Regions from separate parts of the Homo sapiens genome. Here all the other regions are linked to region 1. The links are contacts of gene promoters, found by promoter capture Hi-C in human tissues and cell types (Jung and others, 2019). All regions are on one chromosome and are shown on one strand. The core of a region is centred on a gene start or on the middle of the fragment in contact, and the rest is flanking DNA. Distances in the headings are between cores, read along the strand shown. Region 1 holds the start of JAM2 (junctional adhesion molecule 2). Region 2 overlaps LOC105372756 (a long non-coding RNA gene). Region 3 has its middle 95 kb from the start of GABPA. Region 4 has its middle 58 kb from the start of GABPA.

The links. Contacts are between HindIII fragments. The study calls those that stand out against the background at their distance.
Region 2: a fragment that was not itself captured here is called in contact with the fragment with the promoter of JAM2 in region 1 in 2 of the 25 tissues and cell types used here (lymphoblastoid cells and mesenchymal stem cells).
Region 3: a contact is called between a fragment that was not itself captured here and the fragment with the promoter of JAM2 in region 1, in 2 of the 25 tissues and cell types used here (adrenal gland and lymphoblastoid cells).
Region 4: a contact is called between a fragment that was not itself captured here and the fragment with the promoter of JAM2 in region 1, in 4 of the 25 tissues and cell types used here (H1 embryonic stem cells, dorsolateral prefrontal cortex, lymphoblastoid cells and 1 more).

Annotation. Positions count from the first base shown.
Region 1 is chr21:25,637,949-25,640,547 of GRCh38, reverse strand. It overlaps JAM2 (junctional adhesion molecule 2), which reads right to left and starts at 1,290. Exons shown (of 10, transcript NM_021219.4): 1 at 660-1,290. The coding sequence starts at 726. RefSeq lists enhancers at 308-377, 280-780, 1,518-1,657 and a silencer at 1,108-1,297. The HindIII fragment of the contact is 5,846 bases long and covers 289-2,599 here.
Region 2 is chr21:25,863,001-25,865,599 of GRCh38, reverse strand. LOC105372756 (a long non-coding RNA gene) reads right to left here. Exons shown (of 3, transcript XR_007067828.1): 2 at 1,274-1,457. Among named protein-coding and RNA genes, the nearest start is that of GABPA, 130 kb to the right of the region's middle. The HindIII fragment of the contact is 5,320 bases long and covers 1-2,599 here.
Region 3 is chr21:25,828,732-25,831,330 of GRCh38, reverse strand. No RefSeq gene overlaps it. Among named protein-coding and RNA genes, the nearest start is that of GABPA, 95 kb to the right of the region's middle. The HindIII fragment of the contact is 4,908 bases long and covers 1-2,599 here.
Region 4 is chr21:25,791,392-25,793,990 of GRCh38, reverse strand. No RefSeq gene overlaps it. Among named protein-coding and RNA genes, the nearest start is that of GABPA, 58 kb to the right of the region's middle. The HindIII fragment of the contact is 4,893 bases long and covers 1-2,599 here.

The sequences.
Region 1 (2,599 bases), core at 41-2,540:
CATGTGGCTTCTGAATCTTTCTAACAATCGTCCCGTTGGATGTCCCCTGAGGACAGAGCAGCTGGCTAGAGTCCCCAGACCAGACTTCTCTAAGTGAATGTAGATGTGCAGGTGGAGAGGATAAAAGTAATTCTGGCTCAGCAGCCACGAATTCCCTCCACCTCCGCCCCACAAGTGCGCTGCATATCGCCGGCTCAGCTGGGACGCTACAGAGCCCAGACCACGCGGACGCTGCCCCCTCCCCGGGGACTCAAAGTGTGGCCGGCGCCCGCCTCCCAGTGATGCCATCTTTCTTGGGGTCTTAGCATCTTACCAGTGGGTAGTGAGTTTTGCATTCGAATCACGTCCCTCTGTCTGAAAACTTACCCCAACTTTGCAAACAGATGAGAACCTGCTAGTGGGAACCCTTAATTTTCTGTATCTAGAACTGACAAAATCAGACGCAATTCACAAGAAACCCACGACCTCGCGCTCCCTTGCTCCCAGCGTCCGCTCGCGGGCACCCTGGGTTTCCCGCTCGCCTGGGCGCAAGGTCAGACGCCCCGCGGCGACCTCGGCCCAGAGCCGCCCAGACACTGTCAGCCAGCGCCCCGTGGGGGGCTGGAGGGTGGGGGCAGGCTGGTCCAGGCAGGAAGGGTAGAGGAACCCGAGCAACTTACAGCCCAGGGCGACCACCAGGTAGCGCAGCAGCAGCAGGAGGAGGCGGTGGCGGCTCCTCCTCGCCATCTTCCCGGGGCGGCAGCCGGCTGCTCTGAGGAGGTCGAGGGTCCCGGCGGCAGGAGCGCAGGAGGCCGGGGGCCCTTGAACTTCTGGGGCGGGAAAGGAGCAGAGAGTCGGGAGGGGAGGAAGAGGAGGGACGGCTCTAGATGGGATGTCAGTTTCCCCCTCCCCGGGGCGCCTTCTCAGCTGGCTGCCAAGAGGCGGGTCCTCCAGCCCAGGGATGGGGGTCTGTTCTGTTTTGGGGGTGTGGGGGTAGGGGCTAGAGGGCGTGAAAACCAGACGAGGCGTCCGCCGGGTCCTAGCGAGGGGGCAGCAGGAGGAGAGCAGCGCCCGGGAAAGCCCCGGCGGGTCGTCCCTCCGCCCCCACGCCTCCGGGATTGATCGGCTTTGTGTCTGGTCCGCGCGGGGCTGCCAGCTGTCCCCAGGGCGAGGAGCTGGGGGCGGGAGGCGCGGGCAGGCTGGGGGTGGGGGGATTGGGTGTCTCGGGGACGGGGATGTATGCGGGTAGGGAAACGCCTCCTGTTTTGCCCCAACTCCTTTCTTCCCCTCGTTGGCTCAAAACTTCTTTCTGGCTTTTCAGCCTAGGGGTGGAGATATTTGGAAAATTCTGCCCAACGGGCGAAGCTGAGGGGGTGGCGCTCTGAGGAGATGGGGTTCGCGGGCTCCGCCTCGAACTCGAGAAAAAAAAAAGCAATCAAGACTCGTGCTGGAAGTCAGGTCTCAGATTTTAGTACAGCCTTGGTCCCTTCTCAGTTTAAGCTTTTTGCTCCTTGGAGATTTGAGGTGCATTTGTCTCGCGTTCTTGTTCTTTGCTTTTTTTTCAGTGTCAGAGTTGGAAGTTCATCTAATGGTGTGAAATATTTATCATGTTTCTTTCAAGTTACATAACTGCTGCTTGTGGAGTTTTCCACGTGTTAAAACTCTACAGCTGCCCTTTGTCAGGTTTATTTTTGGTCTACTGTGCTTTTAAAAGGGAAACCCATTATGAATGCTCTGTTGCGTGCTTTAAAATTGCACCACACTTACATTGGACGCACGTACACTGGCAATTTTTATATTTGTTCCTAGGGACCAAAAATGTATGGTGTATTCAAGAGTATTGGCAGGTCTGGAAAAAGGCCATTCCCAGGAGAAGAAATTAGTATACATCAGTTTTTTTCTTTTGTTTTTTTGTTTGTTTTTGTTTTTGTTTTTTTTTAAAGGTTGAATAATGGATGAAGTTCTGTACAGCAGATAGTTGATTTAGTGGTGTATTTAAAAAGAATTCAGCTAGCTCAGTGGACAAAGGCGACCAGAGTTTAGCTGTGCAGAACTGTGAGGAATGAGGCATCCTTGCTGTTGCCGTGGTGACAGTGATGAAAACTTAGTACCCAGGGAGGGGGTGGGAGGAGAGGACCCAGGGGACCCAGAAAGGAAAGTCAAAATGGCAAAATGTTAAAACTCGTACTCCAGTCAACCGAGGAGAAGGGGCACAGATTTAACAACAGCTTATGCCAGTTTTTCTGGGCAGTAATGAGAAGGATTTGATGCTTAAAAAGAAAAGTTGTTGGCATCTTCTTTTTTCTAATTCTTGCTACAGCTATATGTCTTTTACTCCTCCCTAAAAATATACACAAAAATGTCATACTTAAAAAAATTCTATGCAATCCTATGTGAGTAACTGACTAAGTTATTTATTTGCCACCCAGCCAAGGCATTTGACAAATGGCAACAATGTGCTGGATGCTGAAGGACAACCATGAACAAGATAGAGGCTTTCTTGCTAACAAGCTCACAGTCTTGAGGGGAGACAGAGTCTTATCAGGAAAGATGCCTGATACCACATGGTAAATGTTACAGGAGGACAGAAAATAATAACAGCTATTTTTATTGCATGCTT
Region 2 (2,599 bases), core at 40-2,539, 230 kb before region 1:
ACCAACAGCTCCTGATAAGATGCTATACACATTCCCAAAACAACACACACACACACACACACACACACACACACACACACACACACACACACAGAGAGAGAGAGAAGAAGGCTGGAGGAGTATGCTGACAACACAGCACGAGCTAGAAATGTGACCTTTCACATGAAACTTCTTGGTTTTATTTTAATTAAAGAAAAGTGTTTTTATTTTTATAAAGAAATATTCATATTCTTTCTTGGTTTCAGTTTGAAATGGTCATCATGTCTAAGCATTATGAAAATCACTAAACCAGACCAGAGATAGGATTTAGAACCATCCTGAAATAAATATTTAAGCTGAACATAATTAGCTTCATGATATATGTATTTCATTTTTTGTGTAAAGGGATGGCATTAACAGAAAAGGGGCAAAAGTTCTTATTAAGTAGACAGCATGTTCTACCGTGAGATGGAGATTAGGGTTATTAATATGAACCCCTGTCAAGAAGAGTCTGACAGTTCTTTATACAGGAAAAATAAGCCAATATTCTGAGCCCCAGGCTAAAACTTTGGCTTTTGGCAACATAGAGAACTGAAGCTTAACGCTGTTGAGAAAGGAGAATCCAGTTTCAAGAGCACAGGGCAAAAAAACGAGTTCATTGCCCAGGTCTGCCTCTTATGAGTGGACCTCTCTAGAATTCAATTTTACTCTTTCTGAAGAAGAGAAGCAACAAAGACTTAAAGAGATGAGAAAGAAAAGTATAGCAAGAACATCATCAGCTAAGGCACATTATTTTAAAATTGAAACAGTACTGTATTCCTGGTTTTGATGACTGTGCTATAGTTATGTAAAATGTTGTGCTATAGTTATACAGGGGAAGCTGGATGAAGAGTATACGGAGTACTCTATTCTATTTTTGCACCTTTTTTAAAGTCTAAAATTACTTCAAAATGCCAGCCACAGTGGCTCATGCCTGTAATCCCAGCACTTTGGGAGGCCAAGGCAGGTGAATCACATGAGGTCAGGAATTCAAGACCAGCCTGGCCAACATGGCAAAACCCCATCTCTACTGAAAATACAAAAATTAGCCAGGCATCATGGCAGGTGCCTGTAATCCCAGCTACTCAGGAGGCTGAGGCAGGAGAATCGCTTGAACCCAGGAGGCGGAGGTTATAGTAAGCTGGTATCTTGCCACTGCACTCTAGCCTGGGTGACAGCACGCGACTCTGTCTCAAGAAAAAAAAAATCACTTCCAACTAAAAGATTTAAAAAACATTATTATATGGTATAATACCTTAAAAAGCAGTTGGCAGAGACTCATGGAAATCCAGGCACAGTCTGTGTGAAACTGTCTCACGGTCTCTTTTCAAGGTAATCTTTGTGGCCACTGTCATTATTTGTAAATAGTTGAACACTGTAGTCCTCCTTATCTGCAGTTTCACCTTCCAGGGTTTCAATTACCTGTGGTCAACCATGGTCTGAAAACATTAAATGAAAAATTTCAGAAATAAACAACTCATTAGTTTTTAATTGCACGTGGTTCTGAGGAGAAATCTCAGATGAAATCTCATGTTGTCCTGCTTTGTCCTGCCCTGGACAGGAATCATCCTTTTGTCCAGCAGATTCACACTGTAGACACAACCCACCCATCAGTCATTGACACTGTCTGTTTCTGACTCCCAACCTTCGTCATCCTTGTGGCTTAATGATCCAGAATCACCTGAAGCAGATGATCCTCCCTCTGACAATAGGTCAGAAGGTCAATAGTAGCCTAATGCTAAGTCACAATGCCTACGTCATTCACATCACTTCATCTCAGCACGTAAGCATTTTGCCATCTCACATCTCACATCATCACAAGAAGGGTGAGTACATTACAGTAAGATATTGAGAAAAAGACCATGTTCACATAACTTTTATTACAGCATATTGTTACAATTGTTCTATTTTATTATGTTATTGTTGTCAATCTCTTACTCCGCCTAATTTACAAATTAACTCTCACAGGTATGTATGTATAGAAAATGTGCACTGTGGGTCTTAGAAGGTATGTCCCTCAGATAAGGGGGGACTACTGTACTCTCATAGGGGCTCAATAGTCATTGCCAATGAAGAAAATCTGAAGGTGTCCCTTTGAACCAATTTAGATTGAAATGACACAAAACATAAACTAAGGAAGAAGCAATTCATCAAAAACAATGGTATACCAGATAACTTAGAGACTGAGAAAGAAAAGTTAAACTCACTATGTGAAGTATTTTATTAACACTCTTTTAGGGGAAAATCAATTTGGTTTAAAACAGAAGGAATTTGGTATCTTCAGGCCCTATTCATTTTTGCATGGTCTTTGTAATCAGATTTCTGGCCAGTCTGCTGTTTACTTTCAACCATCGACCATGTCCCTCTTCTATGCACTGATTTTGAAATTTCATTAATGTTTACCAGCTCTCTCACATGGCAATTATGTTAAGTATTTTTCATAGAAGACTTTAACATATAATTTTAATTTTCTGAACTATTAGCCTTTTATCAACTCCCAAAATTACTTGATTTGTGTTAAGAAAACACATACATTTTATTCTAAATACTCTTATACAGATGTACCATGTAATAGTTTCTT
Region 3 (2,599 bases), core at 38-2,537, 190 kb before region 1:
GAAACTTTGGGTTTCATTTTTATTGATATCAGAAGCCACTGTATATATGAACTGAATTATGCTTTAAAACTATCTTTTGTTTTTTTTTTTTTTTTTTTTTTTTTGAGATGGAGTCTCACTCTGTCATCCAGGCTGAAGTGCAGTAATGCAGTCTCGTCTCACTGCAACCTCTGCCTCCTGGGCTCAAGCAGTTCTGCCTCAGCCTCCTAAGTAGCTAGGACTACAGGCGCATGCCACCATACTCGGCTAATTTTTGTATTTTTAGTAAAAACGGGGTTTCACCTGTTGGCTAGGCTGGTCTCGAACACCTGACCTCAGGTGATCCACCTGCCTCGGCCTCCCAACGTGTTGGGATTACAGGCGTGAGCCACTGCGCCTAGCCTAAAACTATCTTTCTAAATTCCATGTAGAGAAGAGGCCGCAGGGGATGTATCAGTCAGAGTCCAGTAAGGAATTAGAAATCCCCCTAGGTATTTCAGGACAACCCTGATTGGAACAAAAAAGGAAAATGGGAGTCTTTTCTCCTTCCTCCTACTTTCTTGTCTCCCTGTAGTGCCCCATTGTCAGAGCTAGCAGGAAGCCAGAGGGCAAACGAGGAGTGTAGTCTGTTCAGAGCAGGCTCCAGAAAGTTTTGCATCACTTAGAGGTGAAATAAAATGCAAGTCAAAGAGAAATCCACGAACAATGGCTTAAATAATTAAGGTTTTTATGGTGTTTTCTTCATTATTATTATTATTACTATTATTACTATTTTCAAGATGAGTCTGGCTTTGTCACCCAGGCTGGAGTGTAGTGGCACCATCTCAGCTCACTGCAGCCTCCGTCTCCCAGGTTCAAGTGATTCTCATGTCTCTGCCTCCTGAGTAGCTGGGACTGCAGATGCACGCCACCACACTGGCTACTTTGTGTGTTTTTAGTAGAGACAGGGTTTCACCATGTTGGCCAGGCTGGTCTCGAACTCCTGACCTCAAGTGATCTGCCTTCCTCAGCCTCCCAAAGTGCTGGTGTGAGCCACCGTGCCCAGTGTATTATTATTTTAAAGTTAAGGTCTTGCTCTGTCACCCAGGCTGGAGTGCAGTGGCACTATCACAGGCTTGAAATCCTGGGCTCAGGTGATCCTCCCAAGTAGCCTACTCTATAGGCTCACACCACCATGCCCAGCTAACTTTATTTATTTATTTATTTATTTATTTTAGCAACAGGGTCTCAATTTGTTGCCCAAGCTCATCTTGAACTCCTGGCTTGCCTCCCTTAAGTGCTGGGATTACAGGTGTGGGCCACTGTGCCCAGTGATTTTTGTAGAAAGAAATGTGGAGGTTGGTGAATGTTAGCGTTGGTTCAATTATTTCATGGTGTCAGCCCATGTGTCTTTGAGATTATTCGGGATTCTACAGTTCCAGGCCTCACATTCAGAACACCCAGAAGAAGGAAGGGGAGGCACCAGCTACCAGAAACCCTTGATCATAATTTTGCTGACCACTCATTGACCACAATTGTGTCACATGGCCACCCCTAGCTGCAAAGAAGAATGGGGAGGTGAGTGCTACTTTTTCTTGCTTCTCTAGTGGATATTGCCAAGAGAAAAGGAAGTAGTACATTGGTGTTGAGGCAGACAGTTGTGGCCACTATCTCATCTAAGGGGCGTCAAGCTTTAGAACTGATGTGGATAAGAGTAGAGAATGCTGTGAAGGACTCAATAAACAAGGTTATCTAAAGATGTCCATTAAGTACAATAAGCTTCTACTAGGCTCTAACCAATGTAGTAGATGCTAGCAGCCACTTGTGGCTGTAGCACAAGTGAAATGTGGCTAGACTGAATTGAGGTGTGCTGTACATATGAAGTATGCACCAGATCCTAAATCATAGTGTATAGAAAAAGAACTTAAAACGTGTCTTAACAATAATTTGTTATGTTGATTACATGTTGAAATGATGATACTTTGGATATACTATAAACATTTATTTCATCTGCTTTTTAAACTGTGTTTCATGTGGCTTTTAGATAAATTAAATTATGTATGTGGCTTATTTTGTACTTCTATTAGATTGTGTTGCACTAGATTATTTAATAACCCTTTCTTTCTCTAAAGAGAGTCTCTGTTACCTGCCTCTAAGCCAAATTTTCCTCTTCTAAGGGTGCTAATTGTCATGGTTTTCTAAGTCTGGACAGGTCTTACCAGAACAGCCTTCCCCATGACCTGATAGCTCCAAAAGGTACCTTCTAGTGATGGGTTGAAAAAACAAGCCAAATTCTTTTATCAAGAAACCTGCCATGACCATCACATATATTTCAACCTGAGGTAGATAAGAACAAGTATAATAATGAAGTCAAGGAAAAGATTCCAGACAAGGATCAAATTATTCAGTATCAGCAGCACCCTGAGGCTATCAAATGAGACAATCTGAATAATTGGTTGGAGTAGGGAGCCCAATTTAAATTAGTCCTTTACTTAATCCTTAACCTTTTTTTTTTTTTTTTACTGGAAGCAAGGAATCATGCAATTCCAATTTTGCCCCATCGTTTTTCATGACTTATATTAAAAATTTCCTCAGTGGCTCTGGTGAAAAAAATGAATGAATTGGAACATGAAATCTATAG
Region 4 (2,599 bases), core at 35-2,534, 150 kb before region 1:
TTTGACTGGTATCCTTAATAACGGGAGGAACTTCCGATACAGACAAGCAACAGAAGGAAGATGACATGGCCAAGTGTGGCGGCTCATGCATATAACCCCAGCACTTTGGGAGGCCGAGGCAGGCGGATCACCTAAGTTCAGGAGTTCGAGACAAGCCTGGCCAACATGGTGAAACCCCATCTCTACCAAAACATACAAAAATTAGCCAGGCGTGGTGGTATGTGCCTGTAATCACAGCTACTCAGGAGCTGAGGTGGGAGAATCGCTTGAACCTAGGAGGCAGAGGTTGCAGTGAACCAAGATAGTGCCATTGCACTCCAGCCTGGGTGACAAAGTGAGACTCTCTCAAAAAAAAAAAAAAAAACAAAGGAAAGGAAGGAAGGAGAGAGAGGGGAAGGGAGGGAGGGAAAGAAAAAGAAAGATGATGATGTGAAGACACATGGAAAAGAAATCCGTCAAAAGTCAAGGAGAGAGAAGTGTGTAACAGGTCCTTCCCTCAAGACCTAAGAAACCAACCGTGATTTTGGATTGCTAACTTCCAGAATTGTGAGGAAATAAATTCCTGTTGTTAAAGCCACCTAGTCCATAGGACTTTGTTATGGCAGCCTTAGAAAACTAGAACATTGTTATTGTTTTGTAATTTTACCCTTCCATGAAGTCCCCAAATCTTGGGAATCTCATCTCAATTCATTAGGGGCCAGTTTTGTCTTGCACATGGGGAAGCAGGGGTCACATAAGCTTCTTTTGTATCTCTCTTCACACAAAGTGGGCAACACATCAAAATTTGCTGAAAGCTTGGGATACAGAAAAATATCCCCAGAAAGATCACCAGGGAAATTCTAGATGAAGAAAGTGCTTCATCATGGTCCCAGCAGACAAACTGAAAACTATCTTACTCTCAATATTAAAATCAAATTTGACGAACAAGATTCATGTTGACAGAATTTACTTTACAAGGATGATTTTCCTTTGTAGTGTTTATTCTGTCAACAGGTATCAACCCTTCCTCTCTTTTTTTTTCGTTTTCTGTTTCACCCTTGTCATGACTATTATCCCCCGGACTCAGGGAATTTTCTGTCTCTCCTCTGTGGCTTGAAGTTACCACAGCAGATACCAGGAGTCTTCCTAGCCACGTAATCAAGGAATTTCATTCAAGGTCCATTTTCCATCATGTCCTGGTGGAGTCCACAGAAACCTGGGTTCTCCCTGTGCCTTTCAACTCGTTTCAGGCTGGCTGTGGTGGCTCACGTCTGTAATCCCAGCATGTTGGGAGGCCAAAGTGGGAGGATCACGTGAGCCCAGGAGTTCAAGACCAGCCTGGGCATCATAGGAAGACCCCATCTTTACAAGTAATTTAAAAATTAGCCAGACGTGGTGGTGCACACCCGTAGCCCCAGCTACTCAGGAGGCTGAGGCAGGAGGATCACCTGAGTCTGGGAGGTTGAGGCTGCAGTGAGCCTGTTCACACTACTGTACTCCAGCATGGGCAACAGAGCCAGACCCTGTCTCAAATAAATAAATAAATAAATCTCTTTTAATTAATGCAAATCAAAACCACAGTGGGATACCATCTCTCACCAGTCAGAATGGCTATTATAAAAAAGTAAAAAAATAACAGATGCTGGTGAGGTTGCAAAGATAAGGGAATGCTCATATACATACATTGCTGGTGCTCATGTAAATTAGTTCAGCCACTGCAGAAAGCAGTTTGGTGATTTCTTAGAGAACTTAGAATTACCATTCGACCTTAGCAATCCCATTATTGGGTATATAATTAAAGGAATACAAATTATTCCACCAGAAAGACGACATGCATGTGCATGTTCATTGCAGCACTATTCACAGTACCAAAGATGAGGAATCAATCTGAATGCTCATCAATGGTAGACTGGATAAAGAAAATGTGGTACAATATAGCATGGAATACTATGCAGCCATAAAAGAAGAATGAGATCATGTTCTTTGCAGAAACATGGACAGAGCTGGAGACCATTATCCTAAGTGAACAAAGGCAGGAACAGAAAACCAAATACTGCATGTTCTCACTTATAAGTGGAAGCTAAGCATTGAGAACACATGGACACAAAGAAGGGAACCACATACACCAGGGCTTAGTTGAGGGTGGAGGGTGGGTGGAGGGTGAGGATCAAAAAACGACCTATCAGATACTATGCTTATTACCTAGGTGACAAAATAATCTGTACATCAAACCCCCTTGAAACATAATTTACCTGTATAACAAGCTTGCACATGTATCTCTGAACCTAAAAGTTAAAAAAAAATTTCATTGCCTCAGTGGCTGTTTTGAGAGCATTAAGAGGCTATGAGAGCATTGAGAGGCCCATTTTCCCCCTCTTCCTACCCATCTCAGACCCATCTCATTTCCCCATGAAACTCTGCCTCATACTTCTGTCTGAGCACTCTGAGCCCTACCAGCATGGTCCTTTGGCATCCAGAGCTGTTGGTGGCGCTGAAGGACTGAACACTCCTGCTTTTTCTCAGGCAGAATTCCAATGAAATGTCCCCACACTGATCACTGTTATTGGTTCATAGGCATAAAACAGAAACAAGGATTCTTAGTTGGTGTGTATTGTACCAA